2 separate regions of the Homo sapiens genome follow, and region 2 is linked to region 1. The links are contacts of gene promoters, found by promoter capture Hi-C in blood cells and fetal thymus (Javierre and others, 2016). All regions are on one chromosome and are shown on one strand. The core of a region is centred on a gene start or on the middle of the fragment in contact, and the rest is flanking DNA. Distances in the headings are between cores, read along the strand shown. Region 1 holds the start of BICDL1 (BICD family like cargo adaptor 1). Region 2 overlaps BICDL1 (BICD family like cargo adaptor 1).

Region 1 (7,017 bases), core at 82-2,581:
TATTTTAGATGCTGGGTACAGTACGTATATAGAACGGCCCACAGCGGCTGGAGCCACGCATGGACCCATTTGCTGTGAGCGGGGTGGGGAAGTCAAGTGGGTTCAACGAAATCTGATAATCCTCCATCCTCCCTCCCCCATTCATTCCAGATTTTCTGCGAGGTAGGGTGAGCAACGAAGTGGGGGTGAGTGGTTCCCTAACTGCCCAGGGCCGGGCGCGTGCCTGGGCGGCCCCTGCTCCCCACCCATCCCTGGAGGGAGGTCCTCACCTCGAGCTTGTCTGTCAGCTCCTTATGCATCTGCTCGTACTGCCGGCTCATGTCCTGGTTCCTCTCGAGCAGCGCCTTACCCAGCCGGGCCGCCAACACCAGATCCTTCTCCTTCTGTCGGATCACCGACAGCAGCTCGGGGTCCTGGGAGGGCGGCGGCTGCGGTCCGGCCCCCTCGGCCAGAGACCCAGGCTCGGCCTGAGGGTGTTCCCCGGGGTCGGACGGCCGCTCCCCGGCCGCCAGCAGCGCCAGCTCCTCCTCTAACGCCAGTTCTAGCTCCCCGGAGCCCCCGGGGAAGATGAGGGCGGCGGCGGCGGCGGGACTCCGGACTGCGTCCCCGGCCGCGGCGGGCAGCTCCATGCAGCAGGCGCTGTCCGGCTCGGCGGGTGCTGAAGCGCGGCCGACCAAGCCCAGGCAGAAAGCGGACATGGCCCGCGCGCGCGGAGCCCGCAGCGGTGCGGCCCGGCCCGCGCGCGCCAGGCTGCAGGGGGGAGGGGCCCTGCCGCGCCGCCCCGCGTCCCGCGCCTCGCCTCGCGCCGCGGCACGCGCCCCCGGGTCCCCGCGAGCCCTGGGCGCGGCGCGCGCCGGCCCGCCCCTCCCCCGCGCCGGCGGCACGCGCCCCCTCCCCCGCCCCCGGGCTCAGCTGCTCAGGCGCGCGCGGGAGGAGGGGGTGGGGGTAGTGGCGGAGTAGGTGGTGGGAACGGGAAGGCTGGGGAAGGGAGGACTCAGGAACAGAGACTGAGGGTCGGCGAAGCGGGAGGGGAGGAAGCGAGGAGGAACGCCGCCGCCGGGTTCTCAGCCGCCCTGTTGCCGCTGCCGCTGCTGCTGCTGCTGCCGCCGCCGGCCGGGCAGCGCCTCACGGGGCGGGCTGCGCTCCGCTGTCGCCGCGACGCTTCCTGCTGCTGCTGCTGTTGCCGGCGGCCGCTCTCTGCAGCCGCACTCCATGACCCCCGGCTCCGCGGCAGCCCCAGCAGCAGCGGCGGCGACGGCGGCTGCTGCTGCTGCAGGGGCCGAGGCGGCGGCTCCACATCGCGCGCCGCGCAACCCGGCGAGCTCCTTCCTGCCTTCCCCGGCTCCTCCCGGCTCACCGGGCCGGCAGCGCCCCGCCCCGGGCTTCCGGCCGCGTCCCCTCGCCCCGCCCCTTGCCGGCGCCTGACGCGCGCGGGCACCTGTTCGCCCCGCCCGCGCGGGATTCGCCGGCTCGCGGGTCTCCTCAGCGACGCCCAGGTGGCGCCGGCGGCCTTAACCCCTGCTCTGCCTCACGCCCTGCGGGCGGCTGCGCGCGCCGCCTGCGGAGGCGGCTGGCGCATCCCTCACGGTCCTGGCTGCCTCACCGCGCGGCCACGCCCCCAGCCTTGCACCCACTTCGGGGTGCGGTTCCGCCCTCAGCCTCGCTCAGAGCTGGGGTGTGGCCACGCCCTCAGCTCTCGTACCTCGGGGTGTGGCCTCGCACCCGGCCTCGCTCTCACCTCGGACGGAGCGCGGCCCCGCCCACCGCCTGCTGCTCACCTCCAGGCGCGGCCCCGCCCCCAGCTACTTGGAAGCCGGGGCGCGCCTCAGAGTTCTGTTGCCGCATCTCTGGTGGTGTCTGGGGCAAAGGGGACTGAGGACATTCCTCCAAGACTGGTGACCCGGCCCCGAGAAAGACATACCCTCACGAAATTTAGGTCTGGGCCCCCAGGAGAACTAAGCAGTCAGGAGAGGGAGCCCTAGAGAGCAGTAGGAGGAGGGAGGACTTCGGAAACCAGGCATCTTCATGCTGATGACTCAGGGATATGAAGGACCAGATGCTTCGCAGATCAGCAGCCCGGAGAGAAAGGGTTTCTGCGGAGAAATAACGGAAAAAACTGCTCACAGATGGGAATACGAAGCAAAGAACCTCCCTAATAATAACTACCGTTTATTCGGCACTCAGTGTGTGCCATGTCCTGTATTAAGTGCTTGATAGTCATTATTTTAGATAATCCTCACAAGAACTTTATAAAATCAGTACTGCCGCTTGTCATTTTAACAGAGAAGGAAATTAAAGCCTGAGAGATGGCATCGTCTGCCCAGGTCATTACAACTGGTAGAGTCAGGATTGAGATCTAGCCAGGCCGACGCCAGGGATCACGTGAATCATTATTCTTTATTTTCTTCACATAGAAGCAGTCTTGAGGAAGATAAATGGTCCTTTGTGACCAAGATGGATTGGGTGGATATGGAAGGAACATTTCCTCAATGATTAAAGGAAGGTTTGGAGAGCCTACTGGGTGACTTGCAGTCATTCCTTGGTGTTGACCTCGTTGGTGGTGCTACGTGTCTCCTATTTCCAGAAACAATCCCATCTAAAGCTAGAATTCGTCCCTATGCTTCCTTTTCCTCTTGGACAGACAACCCATTTTTTACTTGGATCATGCCTTTCTTCTTTTCATCCCAGTGAGATGGAAATTTCAGAACATCAAGAGGCTGAAATGGGTCAAATAGTTTCTCATGGTTTTTATCGCTTATTAAATTCAGAGCCTAAACAATATTCAAGTTTTAACATCGTTACCCTTAGACTGAAGGCCAGAATCTGAAAAGCTCCTGGGCCTCAGGGCTGGCATTGTTCACTTGTTGACTGGAAAGGAGACAGACAGTTGAGGGATTCCCACATCAATCTTAGAGCTAAATTTCTGCAGTTGACCATGTTACCATTCCAGCAAGGAAATGTTCTAACACTTTTTATTATGACCTCCCACCTTGAGCTGGAATTGTGGGCCAGAGGTGAGATCCAATTGCCACTTCCTTTTGTCTTATTTGAATCACAGAAGGACAAATTTCTCCCTAATATGTCTGGAGACACATCAAGAACAAACAGGGCCAGGCTCTGTGGCTCCTGCCTATAATCTCAGCACTTCGGGAGGCTGAGGCAGGAGGATTGCTTGAGCCCAGGAGTTCAAGACCAGCTTGGACAATGTAGAAAGTAAAGTTTCCTCTTCAAAGCTTCCCTTCTTGTTAAAGAATGAATAATAAGTGTTAGAAATAATGGTTTCTTTTAAAGACTAACTTCCTTCAAGCCACCTTATTTTATGCTAATAACTCTCTGTTAAGCCCTTTCCTATGTAGCTGTTAGATCTAAGGGAATGAGTACATTCTATGTCCATGTACTTTAACCAAGATACCTGTGCTGGACATGCTCACTGGCATGTCCCAGCTTGCAGCCTATGCCCCTTCCCTATTTGGGAATGTTACTACTTTTCTAAGTCTTTTCATAAATAACTTCCTCTTTTCCTTTGTTCTCCATTGCTTTTACCTATTTAGAAAAGTTTTAAGTTGTTAGCCTATCAGGTTCAGTTTAAATTGTAAGGTCTGGCTCCAGCCAATGGAGACAAGGCACAGTAGCAGGGACAAACTGCGTAAGGGATAAAAATTGCTTCTTTCCTTTATTCAGGTGTGCTCTTGCCATTGTTCCAGCTGCAAGGAGCACCCTTTCTGCAGAAACTAAAATTGCATTGCTGAGAAAACTTTCTCTCTAAATGCTGATTTTTCCTCGTGGTACCGAGGAACAAGCATTCTGTTTCTAAATAAACATTTTACTTATAACAGGCAACATGGCAAGATCCTGTCTCTCCACCAGTTGGGTGGCTCATGCCTATGACCCCAGCATTTTGGGAGGCCAAAGTGGGAGGGTCTTATAAGCCCAGGAGTTTGAGACTAGCCTGGACAACATGGCCAAAACCCCGTCTCTACAAAAAATACAAAAAAATTAGCCAGGCATGGTGGTGTGTGCCTATAGCCCCAGCTACTCAGGAGGCTGAGATGGGAGGGTGAGTTGAGCCTGGAAGATCAAGGCTGCAGTGAGCCCTGATCATACTATTGCACTCCAGTCTGGGTGACAGAGCAAGAACTTGTCAAAAAAAAAAAAAAAAAAAAGAGTTTCAGCTCTTTTTCCTTAATGCAGACATGCAGCCTATCTTTCAAAAAATGACTTTGTTTGCCTGCCTTGAGCCCAATGGTCCTAATCTGTTCCACTTATCTGTTACTGTGAAAATGAACTGTTACAATTCTAACTCCAGCTTCTGAATTTCCTTCCTAACAATGTTCCACTGCTGAACCTTACTAGGAAATGTTCACTTCTTACAGTAGGTTTGGCTCTAAGCACTGTCTTTCTGGGAGAACCAGCCCAACTTTGCAGAACTATTCAAAATAGTGGTTCTTAAACATTTTGGTCTCAGAATCTCATTACACTCTTGGGCCGGGTACGGTGGCTCATGCTTGTAATCCTAGCACTTTGGGAGGCCGAGGCAGGCAGATCACTTGGGGTAATGAGTTCAAGACCAGCCTGGCCAGCATGGCAAAACCCTGTCTCTACTAAAAATACAAAAATTAGCTGTGCATGGTGGCATGTGCCTGTAGTCCCAGCTACTCAGGAGGCTGAGGCGGGAGGATCGTTTGAACCTGGGAGGCGGACGTTGCAGTGAGCCAAGGTCACGCCACTGCACTCCAGCCTGGGTGACAGAGTGAGACTCCATCTCCAAAAAAAAAGTTTTTAAATAATTAATTCATTTTAAATATTTATGATAAACCTATTATATGTAACTATAATGAATTTTTATGAACAATAACTATATGGTCCTAAATGTAAAAAAAACTAGTGAGAAGAATGGCGTTATTCTTCATTTTTGTAAACCTCTGTAATGTATGGCTTAACAGTAGAAAAGTGAATTCTTGTATTTGGATATATCTATAATGTATGATATTTTGAAATATATGAAGAAAATTTGGACTCACAAAGATATGTGGTTGGGAAAAGGAGGAATATTTTAGTAGCCTTTTCATTTTGGATATTTTTCTTTGATATTACACCCAAACTTGACAAGTTATAGTTTCTTTCTTTCTCTCTCTCTCTCTCTTTCTTTCTTTCTTGAGATGGAGTCTCACTCTGTTGCCCAGGCTGGAGTGAGTGCAGTGGCGCAATCTTGGCTCGCTGCATCCTCCACCTCCCAGGTCAAGTGATTCTCCTGCCTCAGCCTCCCAAGTAGCTGGGACTACAGGCATGTGCCCCCACACTTGGCTAATTTTGGTATTTTTAGTAGAGACGGGGTTTCACTATGTTGGCCAGGCTGGTCTTGAACTCCTGACCTCAGGTGATCCACCCACCTCAGCCTCCCAAAGTGCTGGGATTACAGGCGTGAGCCACTGCGCCCAGATGACAAGTTGTAGTTTCTTAAAGGTTAGTTGCAATGTGAAATCTAAAACCATGTCAAGGAAATCCCATTGATCTATTTTTCACTTTGAATGGATTTTTTACATATGTATGATTGATTGTATAACAGCATGTATTTTCATTTGGAAAATGTCTGAGTTATGCAGATCTTACAAATATTGTCACATGTCATTACACAATATCAGCCTAATCACATTCATTAATATCACCACCACTGATCTCATCATAAAAGTCTTTAAGTATTGAGAAGTTACTAAGCTTGAGTTTTATCATTAGTAACAAATATTTTGAGTTGTTTTCCTTGAAGTAACAGACTTACTTCATTAATTCTTGAGAAAATATCTGCCAAATACCCGAATCTGAATACCACAGTTTGTGTCATTCATTCAGGTAAAAACAGTGTTCCGTGAAAAATGTGGCTAGTTAGTTCCCAACTCAAACGGAGGTACAAGTGCTTCACCTCAAGATAACCATCATACTTCAGTACACAGCAGAAGTGCTTTGTGGGTACTTCCCATTTCATCACATGAAATATTAAAAAGATGTGCACTCAAGGGTCTGGACTTAATAGAAGTACTGCTTCGTCAGGGACATTGGTTAATAAAACTAGCTTCTGTTTTTTCTATGAGCACATGAAAGTGAAGACTACCATGTGTACCAGCACAGCTGGGTAACACTGCCTTGACTCATGCTAAGGTATCAGTGGTGTTACCTACCATTGCTTTTGCACCATCAGTGCAAATGTCAACATAATTACAAACAAAAATAGTATTAGATGATTAGCATTATTATGAAATTAGTTTGCTATTGTTAATAACATTAGAATGATAATCCTTACACTTATTATGAAAATAGTTCTTTTCTTGGTAGCCCTCTGAAAGACTCTAGGACCTTTAGGAGCCGGTGCACCACACTCTGGGAACTGCTGATTCAAGTCCATTAGGTCAGCCTTGAGGTAACAGAATGAATATATACCTGCCTATATGGAAATTAGTGCCAGGATTTAAAACTCATTAAAGCCAAGTTATGAAAACCATCAGACTTCTAAGAAGCTTATTAAATTTATTCTTCTTCATGCTAGAACAATAACAGCTAAAATACATTTAGCACTGTGCTCCTTAAATCCTTTATGTAACACTCTCTCATTTAATCCTCACAATAACCCTATAATGGTAGTGTGTTACACCAATATATACTAGTACATGATACTATGATGCTAGTGTTTTAGAACTGTCTGTCTCTAATGGACTTGTTCTTAGTTACTCTACTGCACTTCACTTTTTATCACTTATGTATTCCTTTAAAATATATTTGCATTAGTGTTAGTTTTAGTACCTGGATAGTCTGGTAAACTTGAGTATGAGTACAGTTTACATACTTAACATACTATGGGTGAATTTCCACGTAAGTGCTATTACATCACTAAGGGCAAAACATGACATTTTTCCTTCTTAGAGATCCTGATATCTACAAATATGACAACGCTCATCCGATTTCCCCAAGTTGTTTACTTTTATTAACATCTTGGTCCGTGAAAACTGGAAAGTGTAAAAGACAAAA
Region 2 (7,013 bases), core at 483-2,982, 100 kb before region 1:
CCTGCTGGGCCGCCACAGTCCTCAGCTGATGGCTCGGGTGGTCTCTCCCTGCAGTCTCCACACTAGCACTCCACCTGCTCTGACCAGGCCTCACGGCTCTGCCTCCTGTGTCCTGTGGGCCTGGCTGGTGCCTCCGGTTTGGCTTGCCACCCCCAGCCCCGGCAGGCCCTAGGGCCACCTCAGCTTAACAGCTCCCCAGCCCAATGGCCTGGCCTCAGGGGCTCCTCCTGCCTTTTCCTTTCCAATTATTCCAGCCTGAGCTACTGATGCCCAGGCACCAACGGCAGCCTCACGTGGCAAGGATGCCCTGGGTGCTGCCCTAGACCCTGCTGCTGAGGCTCCCATCTGCGGCAGAGGCCAGGGGCCTCACGGTCTTCAGGGGCTGTCCTGCACCAAATCAGGCCCATTTCTTTCAGCTTCCTCACTGGGGTAGGACCGTCCCCCAACTCGAATTCGTTCATGTGGTCCAGAAAATGCCTTCCTCCCCACAGCCCGCCCCACCATGTTTTACAGAACAGCAGCCTTTCCCATAGAGAAGCCTGTGGACAGGGCAGCTCCACTCCCTTCCCATTTTGGTGGCTAGATTCTGACTCTGGGTAAGACTCCATTTGACAAAAGTTCTGCCACTAACAAAGTTTGAAAACTCCTGCTTTAGAAATATGAGCAGCCTGTGTAATTAGCATCATCAGTAAATGTAACATGTGTCTGCTCGATTCCTTCATGACTTGAACCTGGCAGGCTCTGCGGCATCCTGGTAAGACCCCAAGCTTTTCTGGCTAAACCCCTGAGTGAGTCAGCCTGTGGTGTCCGAGCACAGGACAGGTGAGGCCTGTGTTCAGGGCAGGCTCCCTGTGGCCAGGGCAGATGACCTCTTTGGTTCCGAGCAGCCACTGACGAGATGAGGGCATGAAGTTGGGCTGGCTGGGCCCCTCCATCTGAGCAGCTTGTCCACTCCTCCTCCCTCCCACCCATGGGTGTCATTCTAATATCTCTGCAGGTTTCAGCATGAAACAAAGGGGCCTTCCTGAGTCATCGTGGGGTAGCAGTGAGTGTGGACCCCTCACGCGCTCTGGCTCAGGGCCTGCTCTCCAGCCTCCCTATTCTCTCAACCCTGTCTTTCAGACTCAGCTCATTCCTGGTCTTCTCCTTGCCCTTGTCTTCTTCCCTTCTCTTCCATCCCCTTTTCCACTTGCCCCTCAGAGCTGGCACTGTGCCAGGTATTTGCCAACACACGGTCCCTCCTTATAAGGGTCTAGTATATGATCCTTGGCACAGTGCCCTGCACTTACGACGTGCTCAGTAAAATCTACGCTAAATCCAATGTAGGAATGCTAAAGGGTCTTTCAAAAACCAACCTTTCAAAGCTGCCAATGTTTTGTTTGGCACACTGAAAACTTCATTTTTTTAACTTTAAGCAATCAGGTCTGTCCAGGTCGCCCTTTAGAGTTTCCCAGACACACGCTGCTCATCATTCCAGGCCTGCTGGTCCCTCAGTGGATGGAACAGCCATCTATGAGAAGACGGCACCAGCCGTTAGCACTGGGCCACACACTGCTGAAGAGCTCACTGGACGCGACTGTGATGGAGGAGGGAGCTGGGACTTGAGGGCATGTCACACTGCACAGAGATGACGCCAGGCTCCAGCACACAGAACACAGTGGGCCATGAGGGGAGGCGGCGGGGCAGCACAGCAATGGCAGGGCGAGACGGTGGATGGGATGTAGGGCTCAGGCTCACCTCAAAGGCAGGAGGGGTGTACAACTAAAGCTGTTGATACGGGAACTGAGAAAGGCCACTAGATCAGAAACCAAAGGAGCCAGATAGTAAAAAGCCCTGAGGAAGCAAACTGTAGCCGGGAGAGAAGAGAGAGAGCAGCGGTCAGCCAGGGCGCGGCCAGCTGGCTGCCATGCAGGAGCCAAGGAGCCAGGGACGGGCACCCTGCGGTGGGGCCAGTGTTCTGGCTGCCAGCCCCATGGGGCCCTGGGAGGAATGGTCACCAACAACCTGCCCTCCACGGGGGGCTTACCTTGTAAAGCCACAGACGGCTTTTCATCTGTCTGGATGAGAATTCTTGGGGAGAAATATTAATGTTTATACCCATATCCTAAAACTGTGCTACCTCAACCTCACGAACAAAACCCAGCCAGCCACAGCCCAGTCCAGTGGGGGAGCCATGCTGGACCCTGAAAACAGTGGGTCTAGAGAGGGACCCACTGACTCCTCTTCCCCAGGGCCTGTGCCAGCACAGTGCTCTTTGGAAAATGGAGGCTGGCCCTTGAGAAGGGGAAGGGTAGCAGCTGCTGGCTGCAGGAGGGTTGCTGAGCCGCATCCCGCTGTGAATTTTCATGCAATTATACTGAGCTTCCTGGGCCTCCATGTTAACCAGTTGTTTCTTTCCAGCTTAAAGCCCAGACAACCAGCTGAAAGGGGGCCCCATTCCAAGTCTGGAGATCACTACATCTCCAGACAGCAGCAGCCTGGGCACTGTCGCTCAAAAGCATCCTTAAGCATTCTTCCCCAAGGACTAGGGGACATGAGCTCTGGATCTTGCCAGGTGAAGACTGGGATGTGCTGTTCACCCAGTCACATGGAACCCTCCAGTGGCAAACTCTCCTTACACTCTGCCTGGGTTCAGAGATTCCTCCTGGAGTCTCCTCTCGCCCTGGATCTCAGGCTCCAGTTTACCTGCCAAGCTTCCAGCTGCTGCGAGAGGTTCAGTTTCTGCTGAATGGCATCCAGCAACTGGCTGTTCAGAGACATCATATCCATCCTGCACTTGGCAAGTTCCAGCTCCACAGCATTCTTCCTGAGAACAGACAAGCCAGGGTGAACATGGACACCTTGTGCCAGAGGCATCTTGGTCTTTACTTGGGGCACCTGGAGTCCCAGGATGAGGAAACAGGCTCTGACCCTGAACTCACAACAAATAGCAGCTGCAACAATAACTATGATGTTGCCTGCAGAGGGTTAGTTTGCAACATGTTTTCACATATATTCTCCCAGTTTTCATAACCAACCTGTAGGTGAAAGGAATATTTGTCATCCCCACCTCACGGATAAAGAAACAGAAGTTGAGGCCGGGTGTGGTGGCTCATGCCTGTAATCCCAGCACTTTGGGAGGCCGAGGCGGGTGGATCACCTGAGATCGAGGGTTCGAGACCAGCCTGACCAACATGGAGAAACCCTGTCTCTACTAAAAATACAAAATTAGCCAGGCGTGGTGGCACATGCCTGTAATCCCAGTTACTCGGGCTGAGGCAGGAGAATTGCTTGAACCCAGGAGAAGGAGGTTGCAGTGAGCCGAGATTGCACCATTGCACTCCATCCTGGGCAAAAAGAGCAGAACTCCGTCACACACACACACACCACACACACACACACGTTGAAAGAGCAGAACTCCGTCACACACACACGCCACACACACGTTGAAAGAGCAGAACTCCGTCACACCCCACACACACACACATACACACACACACACACACGTTGAAAAAGGACAATACTAAAATAAGGACTGGAACCCAGAGGGGATCAAAAGCCTCACACAGCATAAAGGAGCTACTCATCCTTTCCCAAAATGGCCCATTCCCCACTGGAAGGCAGGAACCTTGTCCTGCTGGTATAGAAGGGATTCCTTGTAGTTAGCAATCCCCCTTAGGGGAACTGTCCTGAAGATACAGAGGTGTGCGAAGATAGCCACACAGTGGTGATCACTATAGCTTAGCTAGTCAGAGTAGCCAAGTGGTCATGAATGATGGGATGGAATACAGTCACCAGTAAAAACCATAAAGTAGGCCGGGTGCGGTGGCTCACCCCTGTAATTCCAGCACTTTGGGAGGCCAAGGCGGGCGGATCACGAGGTCAGGAGATTGAGACCATCCTGGCTAACAGTGAAACCCCGTCTCTACTAAAAATACCAAAAATTAGCCAGGCATGGCGGCAGGTGCCTGTAGTCCCAGCTACTGGCGAGGCTGAGGCAGGAGAATGGCGTGAACCCGGGAGGCGGAGCTTGCAGTAAGCCCAGATCGCGCCACTGCACTGCAGCCTGGGTGACAGAACAAGACTCCGTCTCAAAAAAACAAAAAAACCCCATAAAGTGTGGCCAGGCGCGGTGGCTCGTGCCTGTAATCCCAGCACTTTGGGAGGCCAAGGTGGAAGGATCACCTGAGGTCAGGAGTTCGAGACCAGCCTGGCCAACATGGCGAAAACCCATCTCTGCTAAAAATACAAAAATTAGCTGGGTGTGGTGGCAGGTGCCTGTAATCCCAGCTACTCGGGAGGCTGAGGCAGGAGAATCGCTTGAACCTGGGAGGTGGAGCTTGCAGTGAGCCCAGATTGTGCCACTGCACTCCAGCCTGGGCAATAGAGCAAGACTCCGTCTCAAAAAAATAAAAACAAAACCCCACAAAAAACCATGAGGTAGAATATTTATTGACAGTTCATAACATATTGCTGAGTGGAAAAAGCACCAGAAAACAAGGTCTAGTATAATACTAGTTTTGTAAAACAAAAACTGCCTGTGTCCGCAGGGTGCTGTGGCTCACGCCTCTAATCCCCAGCACTTTGGGAGGCCAAGGTGGGCGGATCACCTGAGGTTGGGAGTTCGAGACCAGCCTGACCAACAAGGAGAAACCCCGCCTCTACTAAAAATACAAAAATTTGCCGGGCGTGGTGGCGCATGCTGCCTGTAATCCCAGCTACTCAGGAGGCTGAGGTAGGAGATCACTTGAATCCAGGAGGCGGAGGTTACAGTGAGCCAAGATCACGCCACTGCACTCCAGCCTGGGCAACAAGAGCGAAACTCTGTCTCAAAACAAAACAAAAAACTGCCTGTGTGTTCAAGGATATGCACAAAAATGTCTAGTTGGTTATCTCTGGGTGATGATTACTGATGGGTAACTCCTCCGACATTATTTTGCATTTTTTTATTTTCACATTTGTGTTTCACGTATTACTTTGTTCACCTTTCCCAACATTCCTAAATCACGGCTGTTCAATGCAAAAGAAAATTAATTTTTTTCGAGGGCAGGGGAACGGGAATAAAGGTGGAAGGACCTCTGCAGAGGCAGCCCTGGTTGCCCAACTGCAGAAACGTGTATTATTTAGCCCTTGCCTTCATTAATCGCTCCCTTAAGCACTCAAAACAGCAAAGCTAACAAAAGCATGCTCCTTGTACAGGGCCAGCGACTAATGTGCAGGGCTCAAGGGCAGCTAGAGGATCCGCCTGCAGAGGCCGCCTAGCTCGAGCTTCACAACACCGACCGCACTAACCGAAGTGCGGCCAGAAAAAGGAACAGGTGGATCCCACTTGCAAAGTGCTCAGGCCACTGCTGCGACCAGCACTTCTTCTTTGGCTTCAGGTCTACCGAGCAATTAGTCACCTGTGCCGACACCGCAAGTGCGCCCCGCCCGCCGGCCCGCCTGCCTTCCCTAGAGAAACCGCTCCAGACAGCTCAGCCACCGCGTCAGCCCCGCCCACTGCGGCAGCGACGGGACCCGAGCCCGTCTAATGGATGCTGAGGGCTCAGATGCCGAAGGCTGCCTCCGTCACACCCACTGCTATTGGCTGGCAGCAAACAGCGGAAATCCTCACGCGGCATCGGTTGCCATGGACACCCCTCCAGTAGCGTCAGAACCCGTGGTGCCCCACGACAGCCACAGCCTCCTGAGCTTCCGGCGTCCCCCGGCAGGTGGCGCCGAGAGCAGCGGGAGCCCCAGGAATGTGCTGACTAACGTTGCCGGCGAGGGACAGATGGGCCCAGGGCTACAGCCGCGGCGCAGCGCCGGGCATGGTGGGGTTCCCTTCCTTGCCAAAAAACGCCCTGAGGCAGGGGCTGCCTGGACGACCTCCAATCCTGGCCACGCGCTGCACCGTTGGGACATTTGCTCACCAAGGAATAAGTGCTCGTCATTCATGGGAAACCCCAGACCAGGATCAACACATTAATCACATTTTAAAAATAGGAATATTCCAAGGGCTCGAATAATTCCTTTTTACAAATGAAACCACTAGTAACTGACTTGTTTTTGTAAGGCAGATTGCTAGCCCAAGATTTATTTTTGGTTTTAGTGAAGGCCCTTCACCTGCAAGGAGATAAAAAAATTGCTACTTAATTTTCCTGAAACTCATTTATTGTATAGGAGAAGGTGCACCTTAAGGTTTCTGCAGCCCAGTGACGAGAAGGAAGTTATATTTCTTAGGGATTCTCACCCCTGACTACACATTAAAATCAAGGGGGAAAGAAGTGGGCCCCACCCAACTGACCCCACCCCGTGATTTCAACTGTATTGTTCTGGTGAGGTTCCTGGTGTCTGAGCGCTCCCCAGATGATTGTAATGTGCGGCCAGGATGGAGAATCAGAGATAACGTATATGGAAGAAGTATCTGGTAAAACTAAGTTACTATACAAATGGGGGGTGTGGTTTCCTCTTTAAATGATTCCTTAGGCTTGTCGTCTCAATTCTTGTATAACAAAAATTCATTTCTAAGGTATGGGAAAAGAACTATCCTCCCAGAGTAACCTAACTGCCCAGCCAGCCCTGTTCTATAGGAGTCCAGGAAGGACAGGACCCTTGCTCCAGAGTTCTCCCTACTGGGGGCATCCTTCCAGAGGGGAGAATTTGCAAGTCTAATCAGACTCCTGGATAGTAACTGGGCCTCCTTTGAAAGCAGGCAAGAGCATGCATTACAAGGTTTCATGTAGATTTGCTCACCCAGGTGGCAGAGCTAGGTTTTACTTTTTTTTTTTTTTTTTTTTAAAGGGAGAAAGACTGGACAACTTGCTTCTTCTCTCCTGCACCCTGACACTTTCTCTGTTTGTATCCCCCACCTTCCATCCCACCTTCCATGCTGATGACAGAATATGATCTTAATGTTCAGCTTCTTGTCTGAGAGAAGGTAACCAACCCATGTGTACTTCTATCTTCATTCTGCCTTTTTTTTTTTTTTTTTTTTTTGAGGCAGGATCTTGCTCTGTCATCCAGGCTGGAGTGCAGTGGCATGATCACAGCTC

What was found. Contacts are between HindIII fragments. The CHiCAGO score rates a contact against its expected background, and 5 or more counts as called.
Region 2: a contact is called between a fragment that was not itself captured here and the fragment with the promoter of BICDL1 in region 1, in 7 of 17 cell types (activated CD4 T cells, naive CD4 T cells, non-activated CD4 T cells and 4 more). The highest score is 11.2, in activated CD4 T cells.

The regions. Positions count from the first base shown.
Region 1 is chr12:119,983,550-119,990,566 of GRCh38, reverse strand. BICDL1 (BICD family like cargo adaptor 1) reads right to left here and starts at 1,331. Exons shown (of 10, transcript NM_001367886.1): 1 at 270-1,331. The coding sequence starts at 698. RefSeq lists silencers at 354-563, 574-643, 694-783, 1,064-1,703, 1,724-1,783 and 2 more and enhancers at 1-686, 687-1,660. The HindIII fragment of the contact is 12,107 bases long and covers 1-3,235 here.
Region 2 is chr12:120,085,744-120,092,756 of GRCh38, reverse strand. It overlaps BICDL1 (BICD family like cargo adaptor 1), which reads right to left. Exons shown (of 10, transcript NM_001367886.1): 9 at 2,686-2,806. Among named protein-coding and RNA genes, the nearest start is that of RAB35, 28 kb to the left of the region's middle. RefSeq lists enhancers at 1,386-1,978, 5,353-5,432. The HindIII fragment of the contact is 1,926 bases long and covers 770-2,695 here.